Linked DNA regions of Homo sapiens: regions 1 and 3 are each linked to region 2. Evidence: promoter capture Hi-C in human tissues and cell types (Jung and others, 2019). All regions are on one chromosome and are shown on one strand. The core of a region is centred on a gene start or on the middle of the fragment in contact, and the rest is flanking DNA. Distances in the headings are between cores, read along the strand shown.

Evidence for each region. The method cuts DNA at HindIII sites, captures the fragments that hold promoters and counts their contacts. A contact is called where the count stands out against the background at its distance.
Region 1: a contact is called between the fragment with the promoter of COL5A3 here and a fragment that was not itself captured in region 2, in 2 of the 25 tissues and cell types used here (lymphoblastoid cells and spleen).
Region 3: a contact is called between the fragment with the promoter of OR7D2 here and a fragment that was not itself captured in region 2, in 3 of the 25 tissues and cell types used here (IMR-90 fibroblasts, adrenal gland and lymphoblastoid cells).

Annotation. Positions count from the first base shown.
Region 1 is chr19:10,009,032-10,013,770 of GRCh38, reverse strand. COL5A3 (collagen type V alpha 3 chain) reads left to right here and starts at 3,267. Exons shown (of 67, transcript NM_015719.4): 1 at 3,267-3,473. The coding sequence starts at 3,386. It overlaps RDH8 (retinol dehydrogenase 8), which reads right to left and starts at 288. Exons shown (of 6, transcript NM_015725.4): 1 at 171-288. The coding sequence starts at 273. The HindIII fragment of the contact is 11,359 bases long and covers 1-4,739 here.
Region 2 is chr19:9,622,850-9,627,982 of GRCh38, reverse strand. It overlaps ZNF561-AS1 (ZNF561 antisense RNA 1), which reads right to left. Exons shown (of 4, transcript NR_122038.1): 2 at 1,123-1,199. Among named protein-coding and RNA genes, the nearest start is that of ZNF561-AS1, 3.9 kb to the right of the region's middle. The HindIII fragment of the contact is 4,441 bases long and covers 1,259-5,133 here.
Region 3 is chr19:9,175,316-9,180,480 of GRCh38, reverse strand. OR7D2 (olfactory receptor family 7 subfamily D member 2) reads right to left here and starts at 1,502. Exons shown (of 3, transcript NM_175883.4): 1 at 1,358-1,502. The HindIII fragment of the contact is 33,183 bases long and covers 1-5,165 here.

The sequences.
Region 1 (4,739 bases), core at 2,018-4,517, 390 kb before region 2:
GCACCCAGAAGATGCTCAAGAAATATTTCTAGGATGAGGGGATGATTCCTGGAGGGAATCCTGGGTCTCCCCAAGCCCACAAGTGCAGCTGGGAGGGATGGGTAGGGGAGACAGTGCTGGGGAAGCCGTTTCCACCCGGCTGCCTCCTAGTGCCACCCTGCACTTCTTACCCTGGTAGCGCTTCTTGGGGTCATGGGCCAGTTGCACTGCAAGTTCCAGACCAATTCCTGATGAGCAGCCGGAGATCAACACAGTCCGGGGTGCAGCGGCCATGTTGATCCCCTCCCTGGACTCGTGACCTCCGCCGGGCAGCACCTGACTCTGACCATTCATCCTGGGCTCATCTGCTCCCTCCTAACCCCCTCCCACAGATCCCCTGCAGGGCAAAGCCTCTGCCCTCCCCCGGAGACCCTCAATTCTGGACTGACCCTGAACAGGCAGTAAGAGAGAATCTCTTAAATCCTCTCTGCACCTCATTTTCTTCATCTGCCAAACATTTCTTCTCCGCACCTACTATAGACATCACTGGTTTTTGTTTGTTTGTTTTTAAGAGACAGCATCTTGCTCTGTCACTCAGGCTGGAGTGCAGTGGCACCATCATAGCTCACCACAGCCTCAAGCGATCCTCCTATCTCAGCCTCCAGAGTAGCTGGGGCTACCGGCGCACACTACCATGCCCAGCTAATTTTTAAATTTCTTTTTCTTTTAGACATGGGATCTTGCTATGTTGCCCAGATTGGTCTCGAACTCTTGGCCTCAAGTGATCCTCCTGCCTTGGCCATTTGTAACTGTTTTCTTAATTTATAATTTTTATTATGACTGTAAATTATTATTATTATTTTGAGACAGAGTCTTGCTCTTGTCACCCAGGCTGGAGTGCAGTGGTGCAATTTCGGCTCACTACAACCTCAGCTTTCCAGGGTAAAATGATTCTCCTGCCTCAGCCTCCTGAGTAGCTGGGATTACAGGCGTGTGCCACCACACCCAGCTAATTTTTGTATTTTTAGTAGAGATGAGGTTTCGCCATGTTGGCCAGGCTGGTCTTGAACTCCTGACCTCAAGTGGTCCAGCCGCCTCAGCCTCCCAAAGTGTTGGGATTACAAGCATGAGCCACTGAGCCTGGCCGAGTATAAATTATTTAGGGCTGGGGAGAGTTTCTGTGAAAGTTGGGGGGAATTAGTGTCTGTATTCTGGGTGAAGAATCTCTGATTGAAGGGAGAGAGTGAGAGAAGGAGACAGAGAATGTGGATCCAGAAGTGTTTCATAGAGGGAAGGGGTGTAGAACTGTCAGAAGATGTAGTTAGACTATAGGAAGAACTTCCAGCAAGGCAGGGCAGGGCAGGAATTTTGTGAGAGTCTTTTAGTTGGAGAAGTCTCAGCCTCAGATGTCCCTGGGGTGGGAGGAGGCACAGCTTACAGAGATACCCTCTCCTCCTCCCACCCTGGGGGGCCCCCATCTCCCCCTCAGGCTTGATGGGGCCCCAACCCCTCCTCTTCAGGGACACAGAGACTCTTTGTCTGGGGAGTCAGAGGCTGGGAGGGAGGCACTGCTTGCGTCTCCCTCTTCCCCTGGGGCGGAGGTGGGGGAAGCAGGGTTCGGGGAGCAGTTCAGGGCTCAGAATACGCCTCTTGGTTCCTCCCCTCCCTGGGGAAACACCCTCACATCCTGCGTGTCTGCGCTTGTCCAATTGCATAAAAGCTCTATTTGACCTCATGGGGGCCTCTTCATGCTGGAGGTGGGGGTCCCAGCACGGTGAGGGGGGCCTCTGCCTCATCCCAAGAATGGCAAGAATCCACCCCTTCCTCCCCAGTGGCTGTGCGTTGCTTTGCGACAGGGACAGATTCCCACCACCTCCCACCAACGCGCCGGCCTTTTTTTTTGAGACAGACAGAGTCTTGCTCTGTTGTCCAGGCTGGATCGCAGTGGCACAACCTCAGCTCACTGCAACCTCCACCTCCCGTGTTCAAGTGATCCTCCCACCTCAGCCTCCCAAGTAGCTGGGACTACAGGCGCCAGTCACAATGCCTGGCTAATTTTTGTATTTTTAGTAGAGATGGGGTTTCGCCATGTTGGCCAGCTGATCTCTAACTCCTGGACTCAAGCGATCTGCCCGCCCCAGCCTCTCAAAATGCTGGGATTACAGGCATGAGCCACCGCACCCAGCTCAGACTCCCTCATTTGGTGGGGATTTGGGATTGAGGCCGGGGCATCCACTGGAGACCTGAGTTGGGGCGGGGGGAGATGAGGGTTAGGGATGGAGATGAGACCCTTTATTTGAGGAATCAAGAATTTGGGGAAAGTGAAAACTGTGTTTTGGGATCTGTGGTGAGAATTTGGGACCAGGACACGTGACTTAGGGATTTGAGTGGACAGATGAAGGTTTGGAGTAAGGCTGGGGACCCCATTTTGGGATCTGGGGTGAGATTTGAGGTGGGATGAGGACCCGTTAGGGACTTGAAGGAAAGGCTTTGGGGCTGAGGCTGGTACCTCCTATTGTGCAGCTGAGGGACTGAGGATAAAGCAGGTAGGTGAGTGAGAGTTCGGGGTGAGGTTGGGACCCCAGTTGGGGGCCTGAGTGAGGCAGAAAGGACTTGGTGCCAGGGGCGGTGGCTCATGCCTGTAACTCCAGCGCTTTGGGAGGGCAAGGCCGGAGGATCGCTTGAGACCAGAAGTTCAAGACCGGCCTGGGCAGCATAGCAAGATCCCGGTCTCTACAAAATATACATATTTTAAAATTAGCTGGGTGTGGCAGTGTGTGCCTGTGGTACCTGCTTCTCAGGAGGCTGAGGCAGGTGGATGGCTTGAACGCAGGAGTTGGAGGCTGCAGTGAGCTATGATTGCACCACTGCACTCCAGCTTGGGTGACAGATCAAGACCCTGTCTCCAAAATAAAATGTAAAAATAATAGAAAATAAAAAAGATTTGGTATAAAGCTGCACCTCCTCCTAATTCTAGGGCCTGGATGGAGGCTGAAGTCTTGAATGAGGTTAAGGTCTCCTTTGAGGGGATCTGCTAGGCGGAAAAGGTTTGGGGTAAGACTGGAACCCTCGAACTCTAGGGCTGGGTGGGAGTGACCCTTCTCCTCCACAGTGGGGTGGGGCAGGAACAACCCAGCTCCTGGCGCTGGGCTCCACCCCAGCCAGCCAATCAGCCCTCAGCACAAAGTTTCCCAACTTCCCAGTCCAGCTGTCAGCGCTCCCCCTCCAAAAAGCCCCGCCTGGCCAGGCGCTGGAGCGCAGGGCGAGGCCAGGGCGGGGTCTCGGGCAGTTTCCCGCGGACCCTGAGAGGAGCGGCCGCCGCGAGTGACTGCACCGAGCCCGAGAAGTCGCCGCGCCCCGCAGCCGCCCCGACTGGTTCCCCGCCTTGCCCGTGGGCCCCGCCGGGATGGGGAACCGCCGGGACCTGGGCCAGCCGCGGGCCGGTCTCTGCCTGCTCCTGGCCGCGCTGCAGCTTCTGCCGGGGACGCAGGCCGGTGAGCCGGGAGGGAAGAGATGGGACCCAGGGTCCACGACTCAGAGAGGCTCTAAAAGAGCGAGGGGTGGAGGGGGGTGGAGGGGCGTGGAGGGGAAGGGCGTGGGCGCCGCGTGCGGCCCCGGTGTGATGTGGGCGCATGAGTATCTGACTCTGGGTGATTTGTGGGTGTGACAGCTCGGGGTGGGGGTGGGGATGTGTGAGTGCGTTTTCTGGCGAGCGCGTGGGAATGCATGCAATGTGCAGGTGTGTGCATGTGTGTATGTGTGTGTAGCATGTGTGTGCATTTGGAGTGAAGTTGCGTATGTGCTTGCGTGTGGAGGTTGATGGTGATAGTGTGACTGTGAGTGACAGGGCAGTGCTGGGACGGTGTGTATTGCGACAGGTGAGTATGCACTTGTGCTCTTGTCTATGTGCTGATTTTCGAGGGTAACCGTGTGAGTGGTTATGCGTGTGATTGTGTGTCTCTGAGTGCCGCTATGAGGGGTGTAGTTATGATTTTTGGGTGCAAATAATTGCCCATGAGGATGAAGGTGGGTGGGGACAAGTATTGGGGGGTGCTCTTCGGGAACCCACAGTTTCCTTTGCGTCTCTTTAAATGGCTTCACCTCATTCTCCCTTTTCCTCCTCTGCCCCAAATTGGCGAGCGCCCATCTCCTCCCCTCCCTCCCTGTTGCCCCCTCCCCCACCCCGCGGTCCCCAGAGCCGCGATCAGCACCATGGACAGGGCTTCGGGGAGGGCCGCGGTGAGGGGCGAGACGGGGCGGGGCGCAGGGCGGGGCAGGAGTGGAAGTTGCTCCCCCCCTCCCCACCCCAGCTGCTGGAGCCTTGGGTGTTTTTCCCGAGGAATTTCTCAGGAGCCCCCAAGGGGTCCCGGGGGCCGCCGGATGGGTGAGTCAGCGCTGACGCACGCCCAGCTGCGCGCATCTGGCTGGGCGCCCTGTCCCGCCCCTCAGGGTTCAGAGTGGGGGGCGCTTCGGGAGTCAGGGGATGGCGTAGCTTCTCAAGTGTTGGAGATGGGGCTTCCCTGATCTGAGAGACCCTAGACTAGGTCCTCCTGGAAATCCCTTTCTAAGGTGAGCTCAGTCTCCCAACACACACACACACACACACACACACACACACACACACACACACCACAGCACACTTCTTACTTTGGAGTCCAGGAAGGTGCCTGTCCATATGGTTAATCCCTGATTGGACTATGCCGCATTCCCACGCTCACACATCCACATGGTCATGGAATCTTAGGCATCCACTCTGAATA
Region 2 (5,133 bases), core at 2,230-4,729:
GGACATGTTCAAGGAGGTGACTAGGAAGAGCATGGGTTGTTGATTCCCTGGGGACAGGATTATATGGGGGAGGAACTGAGATATAGACATACATAAGAATGGAGTTGGACCCTAACCTTATACCATATATAAAAATTTACTTAAAATGGATGAAGGATGGGCGTGGTGGCTCATACCTGTAATCCCAGCACTTTGGGAGGCCAAGGCAGGTGGATCACAAGGTCAGGAGTTCGAGACCAGCATAGCCAATATGGTGAAACCCCATCTCTACTAAAAATACAAAAATTAGCTGGCCATGGTGGCAGGCGCCTGTAATCCCAGCTACCCAGGAGGCTGAGGCAGGAGAATCACTTGAACCTGGGAGGCAGAGTTTGCAGTGAGCTGAGATTGTGCCACTGCACTCCAGCCTGGGTGACAGAGCAAGACTCCATCTTAATAATAATAATAATAATAATGTGGCATGATTTTTTAAAAATGGATCAAAAACCTTAGTGTAGTGTAAGAGCTAGAGCTGGAAAACTATTAGAAGAAAACATAGGTGAGAAAGCTTCAACTGGAAATGACTTCTCAGTTATGACATCAACCACACAGGCAACACAAGAAAAATTATGAGTTGAACCTAATCAATGATACAAATTTTGTGCATCAAAGCATAATAACAAGAGAGTAAAAAGACAATCTACAAATGGGAGAAAATATTTGCAAGTCCTGTATCTGACTGGGGACAAATATCCAGAGTTTATTTTTAAAATTTCTAGAACCCAAGAGTAACAACAACAAAACTCATTTCAATACAGAAAAAGGACTTGAATAATATCACCAAAGAAGATATACAGATGGCCAATAAACACACGAAAAGATGCTCATGAAACGATGCTCAACATCACTAAACATCATGAAAATGAAAATCAAAACCATGCTGGATGTGATGGCTCACACCTGTAATCCCAGCACTTCGGGAGGCTGAGGCCAGGGGATTCCTTGAGATTAGGACTTCAGGACCAGCCTGGGCATATGGTGAAATATGGTCTTTACAAAAAAATTTTTTTTAATTCAGCCAAGGATGGTGGTGGCATGCACCTGTAATCTCTGCTACCTGGGAGGTTGAGGTGGGAGGATTACCTGAGCCCAGTAAGTTGAGGACTGCAGTGATCCATGATCACGTCACTGCATTCGAGCCTAGACAATAGAGTGAGACCCTGTCTCAAAAAAAAGAAAAAAAAAGAACGATTAAACAGAATTACCATGTGATCCAGATATTCCACTTTGGCATATCCAAAACTGTTCAGAGCAGGGACTCAGAGATATTTGTACACCAATGTTTGTCTCACTAGTATTCACAATAGCCTACCCCTGCCAAACTGCAATTTTAACACACTGGATTGTTTGAAACATAGCCTGAACAAGCCTATTTTTAGCCATTTCGAGTGCGCCTGCTTTGTATTCTCTGAAATTATATCCAATATCTGACAGCCATAGATAAGATAACTCCAGGGCTATGAAAACCCCATACCCCTGCGGTCCTTCAGAGCTTTTTTTTTTTTTTTTTTCTGATGCAGGGTCTTGCTCTGCCACCCAGGCTGGAGTACAGGGGCACAATCTCAGCTCACTGCAGCCTCCATCTCCTGGGTTCAAGCGATTCTCCTGCCTCAGCCTCCCAAGTAGCTGGGATTATAGGCACCTGGCACCATACCTGCTAATTTTTGTATTTTTAGTAGAGACGGAGTTTCACCATATTGGCCAGACTTATCCTTCAGAGCTTTTTAACTGGAAGATATGCTGCCAGTCTGGTGAATATCATCATTTAGTTATTTATAAGCCCCCTCTTTGATTCCCCTTCTCCTCTGAGAGTCTTTCTTCCTTTCCACCCTTTCTGAGCAGCGACCCACAGGTAGAAGCCTGTGGATATTCTCTTGCTGTTTGCTACCTCCCCCACTGCTAACCTGTCAAAGCACATCCCAAATGAAGCTTGTGTGCTACTGCCGCCTTGTGGTAACATCTTTTTCCTTACTCAGCCAAGAAATCACTTAAACACCCTAAATACGTGTGTGGTTTTATTTTTTACACTTAGATCCCTAGTCCACTTGGAGTTTATTCTTGTATATGCTGTGAAGTATGGATTTAATTTCATCTTTTCTCAGATGGCTAACCAGCTATCTTAGACCTTCCATTTGTTACAAATGGCATTTTTTGCCCCATTTATCTGAAATGCCACTTTTTTTTTTTAGACGGTGTTTCTCTCTTGTTGCCCTGGCTGGAATGCAATGGCACGATCTCCACTCACCCCAACCTCCGCCTCCTGGGTTCAAGCGGTTCTCCTGCCTCAGCTTCCTGAGTACCTGGGATTATAAGCATGTGCCACCATGCCCAGCTAATTTTGTATTTTTAGCAGAGACGGGGTTTCTTCATGTTGGTCAGGATGGTCTCTAACTCGTGACCTCAGGTGATCCACCCGCCTCTGCCTCCAAAAGTGCTGGAATTATAGGCATCAGCCAATGCACCCGGCTTTTTTTTTTTTTTTTTTTTTTTTTTTTGAGACAGAGTCTCGCTGTGTCGCCAGGCTGGAGTGAAATGGCGTGATCTCGGCTCACTGCAACCTCTGCCTCCCAGGTTTGAGCAATTCTCTTGCCTCAGCCACCCGAGTAGCTGGGCTTACAGGCGCCCACCACAACGCTTGGCTAATTTTTTTTTTTTTTTTTTTAGACGGAGTCTCGCTCTATCGCCAGGCTGGAGTGCAGGGGAGCGATCTTGGCTCACTGCAACCTCCGCCTCCTGGGTTCAAGCGATTCTCCTACTTCGGCCTCCTGAGTAGCTGGGATTACAGGCACCCGCCACCATGCCAGCTAATTTTTCTATTTTTAGTAGAGACGGGGTTTCACCAAGTTGGCCAGGATGGTCTCGATCTCGTGACGTCGTGATCTGCCTGCCTCAGCCTCCCAAAGTGCTGGGATTACAGGCATGAGCCAGCATGCTCGGCCATGCTTGGCTAAATTTTTTTTCTTTTTTGAGACAGAGTCTCACTCTGTTGCCCAGGCTGGAGTGCAGTGGTGCGATCTCAGCTTACTGCAACCTCCGCCTTCTGGGTTCAAGCAATTCTCCTGCCTCAGCCTCCTGAGTAGCTGAGATTACAGGCATGCATCACCACACCCAGCTAATTTTTGTATTTTTAGTAGAGATGGGATTTCACCATGTTGGTCAGACTAGTCTCGAACTCCTGACCTCATGATCCGGCTGCCTCGGCTTCCCAAAGTTCTGGGATTACAGGCATGAGCCACCGAACCCGGCTATGTTTTTGTATTTTTAATAGAGATGGGGTTTCACCATGTTGGGCAGGCTGGTTTTGAACTCCTGACCTCAAGTGATCCTCCTGCCTCAGTCTCCCAAATTGCTAGGATACAGGCATGAGCCACCGCATCTGGCAAAATACATTTATGAACCAAATTTCTACATGTTCATGGGTCTATTTTTTGATATTTTATTAGTTTCTGTTTCACGTGCTAGTACCACATAGTTTTAATTATAGAGGCTTTATAGTATGTTTTTTAAATTAATTAATTAATTAATTTTTTAGACAGAGTCTCACTCTGTCAGCCAGGCTGCAATTCAGTGGCACAATCTCGGCTCACTGCAACCTTCATCTCCCAGGCTCAAGCAACTCTCCTGCCTCAGCCTCCCAAGTAGCTGGGATTACAAGCATGTGCCACCACGCTTGCTAATTTTTGTACTTCTAGTAGAGACAGGGTTTCACCATGTTAGCCAGGCTGGTATCAAACCCCCGACTTCAGGTAATTTGCCTGCCTCGGCCTCCCAAATTGCTGGGATTACAGGCGTGAGCCACTGTGCCCGGACTTTATTTTTATTTTAAAATAATGTAATTCTTTGCCTTGCATGAAAACTGTCAATAGTATGTTTTAATATCTGCTGCTCATCATTGCTTTTGTTTTTGTTTTCTTGGTTATTATCAGATGTTTGTTCCTCCACATAAACTTCAGTATCAATGTACTTAACTCCAGAAAAAAACTTTTGGTATTTTTATTGGGAGTATGTTACATTTCTGAATAATCTTGGGGAGAATGTCTGGTATCAGTGCTATTTTACAACGTAGGAAATGTGTTCCTGGCCCATGTGGTAAGATCAGAAAAATAACAACAGAAATACATATTTTTGGCTGGGGCAGTGGCTCATGCCTGTAATCCCAGCTCTTTGGGAGGACCAGGTGGATGGATCACGAGGTCAGGACTTTGAGACCAGCTGGGTCAATATGATGAAACCATGTCTGTATTAAAAATGCAAAAATTAGTTGGGCGCAGTGGCACATGCCTGTAGTCCCAACTACTCAGGAGGCTGAGGCAGAAGAATGGCTTGAACCCAGGAGGCAGAGTTTGCAGTGAGTGAAGATCGCACCACTGCACTCCAGTCTGGGTGGCAGAGCGAAACTATGTCTCAAAAAAACAAAACAAAACAAAACATTTTTTAATTTAAATTTTTTTTATATATATATAGAGAGATGGGGTTTTGCTGTGTAGCCCAGGCTTGTCTTAAACTCCTGGCCTTAAACGATCCTACCATCTTGGCCTGGCAGATATTTTAGGCCAGGAGTTCGAGATCAGCCTGGCCAACCTGGTGAAATCGTTCTCTACTAAAAATACAAAAATTAGCTGGGCGTGGTGGCAGGCGCCTGTAATCCCAGCTACTCCAGAGGCTGAGGCAGGAGAATTGCTTGAACCTGGGAGGTGGAGGTTGCGGTGAGCTGAGATCACACCACTGCACTCCAGCCTGGTCTGATCCAGTGAGATCTGTCGCAAGCAAGCAAGCAAGCAAGAAAGAAAAAGAAAACCCAATGGAATCAGCAGGTTCTAAAAAATAAAGAATGAAGAAAAAAAGGCCTACAGAAACTCTGACTGAATGGAAGGGATAGACCATGCCATTCATTGGCAGCTTTATCAATATGGAAGAATCATGGAAAGGCTCTAGGAACATGAGGAGAGGCATACAAACAAGCTTTATATTTATATCTAAAAAGTAAAGCAGAGGTTCCTCTTCAAAGACGTTCCTTCACATTTAATTAGGAATAAATAGTAACTTCTCTTAGAAGCAAAATTTATTCAAAGACCTGTGCTAACATTCTCAAGT
Region 3 (5,165 bases), core at 253-2,752, 450 kb after region 2:
GAGCAAGGCAGAAAAAGAAACCATGGTTTTAACATAAGCTAAAATTCATTTAATAAAATGTAACAGCCTGGCTGGGTGCTGTGACTCCTGCCTGTAATCCCAGCACTTTGAGAGGCTAAGGCAGGAGAAATTCTTGAGGCCAGGAGTTTGAGACCAGCCTAGACAACAAAATGAGACACTTGCCTCTACAAAAATAGATTTTTAAAAAATTAGCTACTTGGGAGGCCAAGGCAGGAGGTTTGCTTGAGCCCAGAAAGACCCTGTCTCAAAAAAAAAAAAAGTCAACTTAAACACAATTAATTACAACTAATCAGTGTCATCAGCTTTCTTATGTATCTGCAAACAGCCATGAGAAAAAATAAGAGGAAAAAAAGTCCATTCACAATTGCAATGATAATATATGTAACATCTGGTGCAGAGTGAACATTTAATACATACTTGTTTTGTTTTGCTTTGCTTTGTTGATTTTTTTTTTTTTAGACGGAGTTTTGTTCTTGTTGCCCAGGCTGAAGTGCAATGGTGCAATCTCAGCTCACTGCAACCTCTGCCTCCCAGGTTCAAGAAATTCCCCTGCCTCAGCCTCCCAAATGGCTGGGACTACAGGCACACACCACCATGCCCGGCTAATTTTGTATTTTTAGTAGAGACAGGGTTTCACCATGTTGGCCAGGATGGTCTCGATCTCTTGACCTTGTGATCCACCCGCCTCGGCCTCCTAAAGTTCTGGGATTATAGGCATGAGCCACTGCACCCGGCCGAGAACTATTATATTATACTAGAGAAGAAAAAGGAAGGTGTTAGCAGGTAGACTGAAAGGAATCCACTCAAGGAAGTGCCAGTTCCTACTGACATTGAGAAAGTCACTAGTTTCCAGAATGAAAGGCCATCAGAGGTGGAGGTGACAGAAACAGTTGCAATAGAATCTTTTTTTTTTTTTGAGACAGCGTCTCACTCACTCTGTCACCCAGGCTGGAGTGCAGTGGCGTGATCTTGGCTCATGGCAACCTCTGTCTCCCGGGTTCAAGCCATTCTCCTGACTCAGGCTCCCGAGTAGCTGGGATTACAGGCATCCGCCACCATGCCCAGCTAATTTTTGTATTTTTAGATGAGATGGGGTTTCACCAAGTTGGCCAGGCTTGTCTTAGACTCCTGGCCTCAAGCGATCCGCCTGCCTCAGCCTCCCAAAAGTTGCAATGCCTTAAGACATCTATAACCAGGTAAGGGAATCCTAGAGACATTTTAAAAATCATGAGACATTATCAACCCTGTTACCTCCATCTCTGTTCCTCCCCACACTACTTTTTAAATCCTTTTCACACACGGTACTAACAAGGATAGTGTGAGTCACTCAACTGACATTGCTTGAAAAAAAAAAATGCTGGTATGACGTCTTCCTCCCCTGACTGTTGAATGCTGAAGACAGAATCTAGCAGGGAAAGGCGGGGAGATGGAACTTGTCATGAAGTCATCCTAACTCTCCTCTCTAAGATGCATGAGTGTGGCGTCAGGAAACTGTCCAGGTGAGGTGTTTTAGGGAAGTATTTATGGTTTCTCAAGCCCCAGGGAGCTGATGTCTCATCCTTCCTCATTAAATCCACTGTTCCAGTGATGTTCTACTCTCCAACCCATTCGGCTCCCTTGGGATCAAGAGCAAATGGCAGAAAGGTATGATGTGTTCTAATTCTGTTTCCAAGAAGGCAGCTCTGAAGCCAGGTGACTCTCTCTGCACCTCCCACCCTCTTGGGGCCTCTTTATTCTTGGAAGAGCTTTCATCACTATTGGTTTGGCTTTGAGATAAAGAGGTTTTCCCCTCTGGAATGTGTCGCAGAAGCTACAAAGACCCATCTCTCTGTAATCCCAGTGCCTAAGGGTCTCAAGGTAACACAGAAGAAAATAGAGATGCAACTATTTCCGTGAATCCCCTGTGATCGCGTTGGCTGCAGGGCGTTAAACAGGCTGTGGACATGTCGTAAGTCCTGTTTCAAGAGAGGGAGAGTCAACCATTGCGAGATACAGCAAGATTTCTCTTCAAACAGCCTGCTCAGCTTCTTATTCTCTAATTCCAAGTACCCCCCCCACACACTTTCTTCTCCTTTTCTTCTTTCTGATTTTGCTGCATGCCCAGATATGCCATAGCCCCAGCTCACATTTCTTTCCTTATTTAAGAATAGACTAGCTGTCTATTCCTCTGTAGAAGACCCCTTCCTCCTCTCCTCTGTCTCCCATCACACACCCACCTTATCTAAGACAGTTTAAATGTGTAACCAATCAAGTCTAGTTTAGATTGTGCTGTCCGACCCCAGCCAATGGGGAAAGGACACACAAAGTCAAGAGTCGCATTAAGAATAAAAGTTGCTACTCTCCTTTGTTCAGGGTGCTCTTGTAGCAGCCAACCCTACGAGAAGCACCCTTCTGCGCAGAAGTAAATTTGCTTTGCTGAGAAATCCTTTGTTTGAGTGCTCATTTTTCTTTATGACTCCAAGATTTATTTCTAACAACCATGTAAAACGATGCTATAAGGCTAAGCAAAATAAAGGCTGAAGAATATCCATCACATTTAATGGCATGGAAAACATTAGAAACAGCGATCTGGGTAGAGTGATGGGGAAAATTTCATTGATGGCAAGTTTGGGAGGAACTGAACAATAAGAAAAAAGTTTTTTTCAATTTTTAAAATGATGGTAAAATATACATAACATACAGTTCACCATCTTAACCATTTTAAGTGTACTATTCAGTGGCATTAAGTATATTCACAGCAGCCATCACTATCCTCCATATTCAGAATCTTCTCATCTCCCCAAGCTGAAACTCTGTCCCGTAACACTCATCCCTCATTCACCCTCCCCAGCCCCTAATGAACCACCATACCACTTTCTGTCTCTATAATTCTGACTGTGGTACCTACTTCATAGACGGAAGTATACACTGTTTGTCTTTTTGTGACTGACTTATTTCATTTAAGTGAAATATTGCCAAGGTTCATGTATGCTGTATATGTGTCCGAATGTTCTTTCTCTCTCTCTCTCCTCTCTCTTTTTTTTTCTTTCTTCTTTTTTGTCAGGGTCTTACTCTGTCACCTAGGCTGGAGTGCAGTGGCACAATCATAGCTCATTACAATCCCAAAGACCTGAGATCAAGCAATCCTCCCACATCAGTCTCCCAATTAGCTAATTTGTTTTTTATTTTTTGTTGTTTTTCTATTTATTATTATTATTATTTTTATATTATTATTTTGAGACAAAGCCTCACTCTTGTCGCCCAGGCTGGAATGCAACTTCCACCTCCGAGGTTCAAGCGATTCTCCTGCCTCAGCCTCCCGAGTAGCTGGGATTACACGTGTGCGCCACCATGTCCGGCTAATTTTTGTATTTTTAGTAGAGATGGGGTTTCACCATGTTGGCCGGGCTGGTCTCATATTCCTGGCCTTGAGTGATCCTCCCGCCTCAGCCTCCCAAAGTGTTGGGATTATAGGCATGAGGCACCATGCTCAGGAGAATGTTCTTTGTTAAAGCCACAAAATATTTCATTATATTATATGTATATACACACATTTTGTTTATCCATTCATCTGTCAATGACTGACAGATCTTTTAAAATTAAAATTAAATGTACAAAAATCTGTGTGGTTTGCAGGAATAAATTTCGAGTACTTCAAATATACAACAAAATGTGCTTGGCCGGGTACGGTGGCTCATGCCTGTAATCCCAGCACTTTGGGAGGCCAAGGTAGGTGGATCACCTGAGGTCAGGAGTTCGAGACCAGCCTGGCCAACATGGTGAAACCCTGTCTCTGCTAAAAATACAAAAAAAAAAAAAAAAAAAAATTAGCTGTGCGTGGTTGTGGGCGCCTGTAATCCCAGCTACTTGGGAAGCTAAGGCGAGAGAATTGCTTGAACCCAAGAGGTGGAGGTTGCAGTGAGCCGAGATTGCACCATTGCACTCCAGCCTGAGTAACAAAAGCGAACCCCGTCTAAAAAAAAAAGGGGTAAATATTTTTTCTGAAATATAATTTTTAATATAAAATTATTAACACATTATTTCATTTTTTTTCATTTGTTTGTTTTGGTGCAGTCTCACTCTGTCACCCAGGCTGGAGTGAGCGGCGCAATCTCAGCTCACTGTAACCTCTGCCTCTCGGGTTCAAGTGATTCTCCCACCTCAGCCTCCTGAGGCGTAGTAGCTGTGATTACAGGCATATGTGCCACCACACCCAGATAATTTTTGTATTTTTAGTAGAGATGGGGTTTCACCGTATTGGCCAGGCTAGTCTCAAACTCCTGGCCTCAAATGATCCACCCACCTTGGCCTCCCAAAGTGCTGGGATTACAGGCATGAGCCATGACGCCTGGCCATTTAGGGGTAATCTTTTTAACTGAACAGAAGCAATTGAAGTAATTTGCAACTCGACTGGACAAAAATCATTTGCAATTGATTAATTCCCTGTGGGTTGGCAATAACTTCACAGAGTCCAGGTCTCAAGCAAACAAACGAACATTGCCTTGAGAAGGAAAGAACTAGCTAGGCCTGTCAGACAATGCTTCAGCATGATACTGAACAGTAATGCGGTCATCCTTTTGCCTTATTTAAAAGGTTTAGGTAATTTGCTTCTTAATACAAAGGATGGATTAGAAGACAGGAGGGTGATGGAACAAGAGATGGAGTTGGAGCAAAAAACAGGAGTCAGATCATGGAGGACACTGGAGTTTAGGTTTCCTTCTGGAGGGAAGTAAGAGCACCGGGTGTTAAAAAAAAAATGTGTACAATGATGTTCCCCTGCAGAATGGGCAGGAAGGGTGCCAGGCTACCTACAGCCCAGATGACAGATCATGTGGACTTGAATCAAAGCAGCATTGGTGGACGTTCTAAAAAAATAAAGTCTATTAAAATGGCATCTAATTCTTGCTATATATATATATATATGTATATATATAATAATAAATATATATAAAAATAAAATATATATAATAAAAATATATAAAAATATATATATTTTTGAGATGGAGTCTCACTCTGTCATCCAGGCTGGTGTGCAGTGGCACAATCTCGGCTCACTGCAACATCTGCCTCCTGGGTTCAAGCGATTCTCCTGCCTCAGCCTCCTAAGTAGCTGGGATTATAGGCGCACGCCAGCATACTGGACTAATTTTTATATTTTTAGTAGA